Linked DNA regions of Homo sapiens: all the other regions are linked to region 2. The links are contacts of gene promoters, found by promoter capture Hi-C in blood cells and fetal thymus (Javierre and others, 2016). All regions are on one chromosome and are shown on one strand. Each heading gives the region's core, a stretch centred on a gene start or on the middle of the fragment in contact. The rest is flanking DNA. Distances are from core to core; before and after follow the strand shown. Region 1 holds the start of KPNA2 (karyopherin subunit alpha 2). Region 2 holds the start of MAP2K6 (mitogen-activated protein kinase kinase 6). Region 3 has its middle 370 kb from the start of KCNJ2.

Evidence for each region. Contacts are between HindIII fragments. The CHiCAGO score rates a contact against its expected background, and 5 or more counts as called.
Region 1: the fragment with the promoter of KPNA2 here is called in contact with the fragment with the promoter of MAP2K6 in region 2 in 1 of 17 cell types (monocytes); the score reaches 11.4 in monocytes.
Region 3: a fragment that was not itself captured here is called in contact with the fragment with the promoter of MAP2K6 in region 2 in 1 of 17 cell types (fetal thymus); the score reaches 5.2 in fetal thymus.

The regions. Positions count from the first base shown.
Region 1 is chr17:68,034,474-68,037,173 of GRCh38, reverse strand. It overlaps KPNA2 (karyopherin subunit alpha 2), which reads right to left and starts at 1,439. Exons shown (of 11, transcript NM_002266.4): 1 at 1,334-1,439; 2 at 1-64. The coding sequence starts at 41. RefSeq lists enhancers at 907-1,126, 1,146-1,693 and a silencer at 1,657-1,706. The HindIII fragment of the contact is 7,979 bases long and covers 499-2,700 here.
Region 2 is chr17:69,413,378-69,416,077 of GRCh38, reverse strand. It overlaps MAP2K6 (mitogen-activated protein kinase kinase 6), which reads right to left and starts at 1,381. Exons shown (of 12, transcript NM_002758.4): 1 at 1,078-1,381. The coding sequence starts at 1,093. The HindIII fragment of the contact is 8,167 bases long and covers 1-2,700 here.
Region 3 is chr17:70,542,158-70,544,857 of GRCh38, reverse strand. No RefSeq gene overlaps it. Among named protein-coding and RNA genes, the nearest start is that of KCNJ2, 370 kb to the right of the region's middle. The HindIII fragment of the contact is 1,077 bases long and covers 743-1,819 here.

The DNA.
Region 1 (2,700 bases), core at 190-2,689, 1.4 Mb after region 2:
AGACGGGCAGCTGGTGTATTAGCATTCTCGTTGGTGGACATGGTTATGAGACAAAGGGAGAAAGCTAAAAGATGGGGGAAGAGAAAAATATTTCCTTTATCATTTTCCTTTGTCAATAATAGTACCAAATAAGAACTGAATTATCAAGCATCTACTGAATCCACACCTGTATACTAGAGGGGGGATCATCATGTTTTCGGCACTATGAAATAGCTTTACCCAAAGGGGAAGTGTCCCCCTTCCCTCTAAAGGGCTGAGACTTCCTGGAGAGGGCTCTCCATCAGAAATAGAATGCAAGCTATATAAATTGAAACTTCCTAGTAGCCATATTTTTAAAAAGGAGAAAAGAAACAAGTGAAACTAATTTTAATAATGTATTTTACTTAACCCAACATATCCAAATAGTATTTCAACGTGTTATCAATATATAAAATAACTGACATCTTCTACATTCTTTTTCCATACTCCATCTTTGAAATCTTTTGTGTACTTTAAGCTTACAGCGTATTTCAATTTGGACTAGCCACATGTATCCACCGTTTCTGACAGCCTAGTTCGATACTCCAGAGTCCCTAATAGTTAATTCAAGACAAAGTAGGGGAACCAAGTCAACTTACAGCTAAAAATTATGTGCCAGGGCAATAAATTCAGATCCTCAGGAGGCTCTCCCTATTTTACTGTCTTTACTTGGCCAAAATAGGTGCAGACTCGAAAATTAAATAAAAATTTGCTTCATCATTACATTATGGTCAACATTAAAAATGCAGTGCCGCATCTCGCATATTTGATTTGCATTTCCAGAGACTAGGAGTGAATGCGCTTAATTAGGATGACATCAGCTGTGCGTCATTCAGAAGATGACAAAAGTCAAAGCCCTCCTTACAATTTGCTATCTTTGCTTTCATTACGCTCGCCTACGACTTGGTGGCAGAGCCACCCCCGGGGCCTAGGTGTCAGAGACGGTGCTCCCAACTGCCACCCCCAGCCCCTGCCCCCACGCCGGGGAAGATGCAACGAGAAAGGAGGAGGCGAAACCAGGGCCGCCACAAGTCCTCCCGGGACATTCGCCCTCAAGCCTGGCTCGCTCCGATTCTCCCGGCCGCGACGCGTTAAGGCCTCCGCTGCCGTTTGCAGAGCGTCGGCGCCCTAAACCCGCAGACCCCGCGAAACTCAGCCGCCTGGTCAATGAACGTCGCCCCCGAGGCCTAGTCAACGCGGGAGGCAGAGCCAGGCTCGGCGTGGACCCGGGGCCTCCCTCCCCCAACCCAAAAGGCGAACGCCGCCCACGGGCAAGCCGTTAGCGCTCGGGCCGGGCCGCCGCCTGAGTCTGTACCTGCGAAGCGGGCCTGGGCTTCCACGGGAGGCGATGCGGGGGGAATCAGCGGCTGTAGGGCGACTGCGTTCAAAGGGTCCACCTCGACTCAGCTCAAAGACCGTGTGGCTCGTGCAGCCGGCCGGCGCGATTTAAATTTCCCGGTGACTCCGCATTCCGATTGGCTGGTTCGAGCCTAAGCTGTGTGCCCATTGGTGGATTTGAAAAACACGTTGGGAGGGGAGGGAGTCATAGGGCTTGGGGGCGAGTGGGAGGGGGGAAAGAAAAAAAAAAAAAGAGGATGGCATCGCGAGATGAGGGAGCGGCCGGGCGGTGAGGGAGCGGCCGGGCGGTGAGGGAGCGGCCGGGCGGTGAGGGAGCGGCCGGGCGGTGAGGGAGCGGCCGGGCGGTCCCTGAGCGCCTGGCGGGGCGGAGCGGGAGGACTCCAGATCCCGTCAAGCAGCGCGAAGGGGCGGTTCCCTGGGCCGTTCGTGTTTCCATAGGGTTGAAGCGTGCATGGTCCTTGGGCGTTTTCCTGGGCGACAGCCTTAAACAAATACCACAAAATGATTCTCTAAGTCATTATTTTAAAAACTTTGTTGTTGATCTTCATGAAAATAAAAAAATTCTAATTAGTAAATAAGTAATCTTTATAGAAAAACATATTGCTTTGCATTTTTTTCCTATTATGACACCCAAAGTACTCGGCGGGGGTTTCTGGCTACTATGGGAGGGAAGATTTGTGTTATATTTTTTAGTTTAGTTTTTTTTTAATTGCATCATAAAAGACTGTATAGAAGCCGCAAATATGGAAACAAAAGGTTTCTTATGCCTGTTTCTCCAAAAACTCAAGTTTTTTATTTTTAAATAATTTCAAATGCAGCAGAATTGCAAATCTTTATCCAGATTTGCCAAATCTTAACATTTTGCCACATTTGCTATTGCTTTCTCTATACATATATATGTATACATATGCACGCGTGTACATATGTGTGATTTTAATATGTTACTTTAAGAGAAAGTTTCAGAATCATGTCCTTTTTCCTCTGTTTCACGGTGTCTCTCCTAAGAAAAGACATTCTCTTATATAACCACACTGCAGTCATCAAATTCAGAAAAACTGAAATTTCATGCTGTTGTTTAGTATGTAGTGTGTGTTCAAGTTTTTTCAATTGTTATAGTAACATTCTATGCTCATTACACATTTCTGAATTTTGCATTTTTTGCCATATGCTCAAACGAACAAACAAAACAAAGATGGTCAACAGAGCATCAGGATTCTGGGCCATTTTTGTTTCTGCAATTTTTTTGTGTTCTAAAAGATTACATTTTAGAAAAGTTTTCATGGTTTATTTCTTACTATAAATAAATTCAAACAGCAAGTTTGT
Region 2 (2,700 bases), core at 132-2,631:
TCATATGGCATATGCTTTCTCTATGGTAAAGAAACAATTGTTCTGAAACAAGTGACTTGGGGTCCCAGGGGCACCTGACAGCACCTAGTCTGCTCTTTGATGTCATATCAGGAATTTTTTAAATCCCCTTCCCAGGGTGACATTAAGCCTGCAAAATACAACTGTGTTTAAAAACAAAAATTAAGAAAAGAAAATAAAAGAACATAAAGAAAACAACCATAACGTGAACTTCCAACCTATTACAGCTGACTAAATACACGCAGTTACACACTTAAAATATTTCATTATGCTTGTCAATGAAACAGTGCAGTCCCTTCACACTACTGTAATGCTTAAAAGTACAGTTTTACCCCCAATATTTTCCCCCAAGATGCAAAGCATCCCCCAAATGGGCAGACATAAAACATTAGGTCTTCACTGCTGCTTCTAAATTTTGCGAGCCAATAAGCAATTGGTGTAAAGTGCAAAATCTCAGAAGAGCAAGACTCGTCTGCTTTTTTGTGATATGCTGTTATTCACCCTTCACCTTTACTTCCTTTAAAAATCAAAAGTTACCTAATGTTCAAGGCGATATCAATGGAAATTTAGCTAAATACTGGCACCGCAACGGTCTATTTCCCCCAAAGAATATAAGATTACATTAATTTCCTAGTAGTTTAACTCAAGTTTTACCTTTCATCTTCACCTATAGAGTTTTTAAAAGTTTCTATTCCTGTTGCATACAAAATTACTTACAATATCTGTGCATAGTAAAGAATTTTACAATTATATAAAGCCTTGCACATTTAGACGCTACCAACCTGCTCTGTCTCTCCTGACTGTGCAAAAGGCAAAAAGAGCTCAGTAATCCTAGCAGAAGAATGCAAATAACGTCAATGCACAGCTGAACTGCAAGCCCTGCCTTACAGGAACTCTCTGTGTCTGCAAAAAAAGACACATACTAAACAGGAAATGCAACTGAGCTGTGGAAAACCTCAAACTTAAAAATGCACTCGCCAGGCGAAAATTGCATCCATGCATTCATAAATGCATGCACAACCCTTTGCATTTTTGCAACTAATGCAAACAGCCTCTTACCTTTCGACTGAGACATTTTCCCCTTTCCTTTGATGGGGGAGGGGAGCACAAAAGACTTTGCCTTGCTTCTCTTCTGTAGCTAGTTTTGCAACAAAGATGCAAGCTGCAGGCGTGCAATCTTCATGCAAGTGGAGTTTCTCTTGACCGATGCAGCAGATGGACTTTCAGGGAATCAAGATGGAAATGCACACCTTGCAAAACAGACTGGAAAGTGATTTTTCCCCCAGTTGCAACGTTAGGGAAGGCTGTGCTGCAGCTACATGATGGGCCAGGGCTGGCAGCTAAAAGCTCCAAACTTGGAACTGAGTATCTTAGTGCGCAGACGTCCTTCCTGCGAAGGGCGCGAAGGCCGCTGGGTAATGTAGTTCTCCGGCGGAGTCCACGGGGCTCTGATTTAAGGAAACGTGGTCGCCCCGGTCGCTGAGCGAGATAACTGGGTGCGACAAAGATTGCGTCCAGATAAACAAGTCAGACACACACTCAGTAGAGTGATGGGTGAAAAGCGGCAAGGCCAAGACGGGGCGGCAGTTTTGTTCTCGAAAAGCCTCTGAAACAACAGCTAAAGAATATTAGGTTAGCTAAAGAGCTTTTGGCTTGTCGAGAAGGTCTGTTTGGGAGTTTAGTGTGTTGATTTTGCAGCTCAGCACCTGTTGTGCTGTTCTTGCCTGTAGACGTTTTACCCTCACACCTCCGTTTTTTGTTTGTTTGGGGGTTTTTTTGTTGTTGTTGTTGTTGTTTTTTTCCCGAGAGGGAGTCTCGCTCTGTCGCCCAGGCTGGAGTGCAGTGGCGCGATCTCTGCTCACTGCAACCTCCGCCTCCCGGGTTCAAGCAATTCTCCTGCCTTAGCCTCCCAAGTAGCTGGGATTACAGGTATGCGCCACCACGCCCGGCTAATTTTTAGTAGAGACGGGGTGTCAACATTTAGCCAGGCTGGTCTCGAACTCCTGACCTTATGATCCGCCCACCTCGGCCTCCCAAAGTGCTGGGATTACAGGCGTGAGCCACCGCGCCCGGCCACACCTCCATTTTTAAAAACATTTTTTCTAGTAAGAAAAATGTATGGATGATTGGGTTGGCTGGAGGTAAGGTTACCTTTGCTCTGTGGAGAAGATGCAAAGTTTTATTTTGTCAGAAACAATCCAGGTCAGTTATTTCCAAGGAACCCGAAACTCAGTAGGGGGTAGGTGTGGGGAAGAAGATTGGAGGCTTCTCATTTCTCACAGGGTTACAGAGGAAGTTCTGCTTTTTATACATCAACGCTAACTTTATCAAAATTAAGGTATCTAGATGATTTTTTCTCACCTGGGAGGAGAGTCCCTGGCCTAGGGGGAAAGTGGGTGGAAAATGAATACAGTCGAATATCTTGAATTTATTCATTAAAATTAAAAGATACTTGTTGAGTGTCCAGGATGTGCCAGGCGCCTTTCTAGGGCCCTGGGATGTTCATTCATTCTGTACCGCTCACACATAGTGGGTACACAGCACCCTGATGGAGAACGGCATCACCTTTTTCACAAGGAAGCCAGAGATGCTTAGCACAATTCACTGCAAGGAATGGAGAGGAGTGAGCAGGGCATGGGCAAAAATGAGCTCGGACTTATACTTCATGGAGCAGACAGACTC
Region 3 (2,700 bases), core at 32-2,531, 1.1 Mb before region 2:
TGTGCACATGTACCCTAAAACTTAGAGTATAATAAAAAAAAAAAAAATTAAAAAAAAAAAAAAAAAAAAGAAAGGCTTGGAAGTGTGCCTTCTTAGCAACCATTCTACACCATGAAAAAGAAACAGAAATCTTTGATAGGCAGGTGGTCACCCTGGCCATGACTAGTTGTGGTAATCTTGTTACCCTTTTCCAAAGATGTATTGATGGTAGCCATGTGACTAAATCCTGTCTAGTGCGACTTAAGAGGAAAGTTCCTAGGAATGTTTTTTGTTTTTCTCATAAAAGGGAAAGACTCCACTAACATGACTTTTAACCCCTTTTTACTTCCTCTTTTCTCCTCTCTGGAAGGAAGATGCAGTCATAGAGACATAACAATCATCTAGTAACCATGAGGGAAATGTAGAGAAGCCAACACACAAAACATAGTGTAGTTTAAAAAAATAAAGAAAAAAATTCTGTTCTTGATTGTGTCTCTCAGCTACTTAGTCTTGAATATTTATCCCTAGAACTTTCTATCCCTAGAATTAATCCTGACCATTACTTAAACATATAACTCCAATTTTTTAAAATATATTTAATGTATTAGTCCTAGAAGATGGTAGTCGACAGATCATAATTTGACAAATACTGATCCAAAGCATTTCAACCCACCCTGACATCCAACATGTGGTAGACACGACATGGGAAATGCTACCTAGCTGTTCTATGAAATACACACAGTGCAGGTCCATGTACAAAGCTTAAGTGGCCTAAAAGGACATCTTATCCCAGCTATAAACATCACTTCCTATTGACTTTCTTGACTAACTTGTGATGCTATCCTATATTCCAGTGTTCCACTCCAAAAATCTTGGATGGGGAAGCCAAACAGATTGTCTAGGAACTGCAAGAGCCATGGAAACATCATGAAGGACTTGGTTTGCTGGGGTGGGGAGGAATGGGGGATTGAGGCATAAAATATTAGCAATCATGGGAAAAAAATCTTCATCATAGCAAATATTTGCCAGTAATCCTGTCCATTCAGACAACTCTGACTGGGATGAGAGTCGTGAGATGAGAGAGGATGCGTACTGAGTGTGGATATGTGTTCCTGTTTTTCCAAGGTGGACCTGGCTCCGTATTTCTCTGCTTTGTGGATCACATCCACTTTTGCTGTCAAATCACATAGTTACCCCTTTGGATCCACGGGATATGCCTTATATGTGCAGGGAAGACTCCATCTATATTTACAGAAACTATGTTTAAAAATTCCAAATCACATGCTCTTCGGTTCAGAGAATTCTTTCAGTCCTCCACATGCTAGCTGCATGTAGTTCTAGATGCCCTAGGCCAGGGCTTCCCATGATATCCCAGAGTAACAAGCAAACGATTTTAGGTACATGGTACCCTGTACTCGGGAAAAACAAATGAGACTGAGCAAGTCTCATTGCAAGATCCATCCCAAGGGCTGAGCGAATCAACATCTCAGCATATTTGAACCCGCACTTGGGCATCCTATGTACCATACGCACTGGAAGGAAAGCTGTGCTGTAGGCTCACATCTTGTCTCCACGTCCCTCAATATTTCCAGTTAGTAATATTTCTCCTGAAGGCCTGATTCATAGTTAGAAATACCCTAAGTAGGGAACCATTACCAGAATAACAGACTTCAGACTACTCAGGCCACCACCTTGCCCTTTCCAGACATTATAACCCACGTAGGTCTCCAGCTCTGGCTGATGAAGGAGGTCCAACGAAGCCAATTTATGCAACGGTGCTGCAGGTGTTCCCCTTTCCTGCCAAAGTTAAAGAGTAGCAGTGCCTTTTGAAGATAAAGCTTCAAAGGAATAATTCACTCAAAGATGGTTTTTCAGTTGCCTTAGGCAAGGCTGAATTTGTCTCGCACCATTTACATAAAACTAAATAAAAATGTGTCTTCCTTCCTACTCATAGGGACTATTTTACAACTAAACTTTTCAAAAGGCCAGAAGCTCATCATTTGGCTCTAACGGGGCAAACTTTGTTACTCCTTGTCTATTTCAGCAATCCCTGCGCCTCAGTTTGATCCTCTGTTGATTTAAGGATTGGATTAAATGTTTCCAAAATTTGTGAGAGGAGGTAGAGTGTATTTGGGCTTGATTTCAGTTTTGCCATTTAGTCAGATGGTATGTAACCCTGGAAAGTCACTGAATTTCTTTAAGTGTCCATTTTCTCATCAGTAACAAAATGAAGATAATCCACATACTTATCCTATGGATATGTAAGAATCATAAATCAATTTGCTAAATTGGCTGAATGTAATAGGACACAATTGTTACAGGAAAGGGGTCCCAATCCAGATCCCAAGAGAGGGTCTTGGCTTTCGCTCAAGAAAGACGAATTCAGGGAGAATCCAGAGAGTAAAGTGAACGCAAGTTTATTAAGAAAGTAAAGGAATAAAAGAATGGCTACTCCATAGACACAGCAGACCCAAGGGCTGCTGGTTTCTTATTTTTATGGTTATTCCTTGATGACATGCTAAACAAGGGGTGGAGTATTCATGCCTCCCCTTTTTAGACCATATAGGGTAACTTCCTGATGTTGCCTTGGCATGTGTAAACTGTCACAGCACTGGTGGGAGTGTAGCAGTGAGGATGACCAGAGGTCACTCTCGTGACCATTTTGGTTTTGGTGGGTTTTAGCCAGGTTCTTAATTGCAACCTGTTTTATCAGCAAGGTCT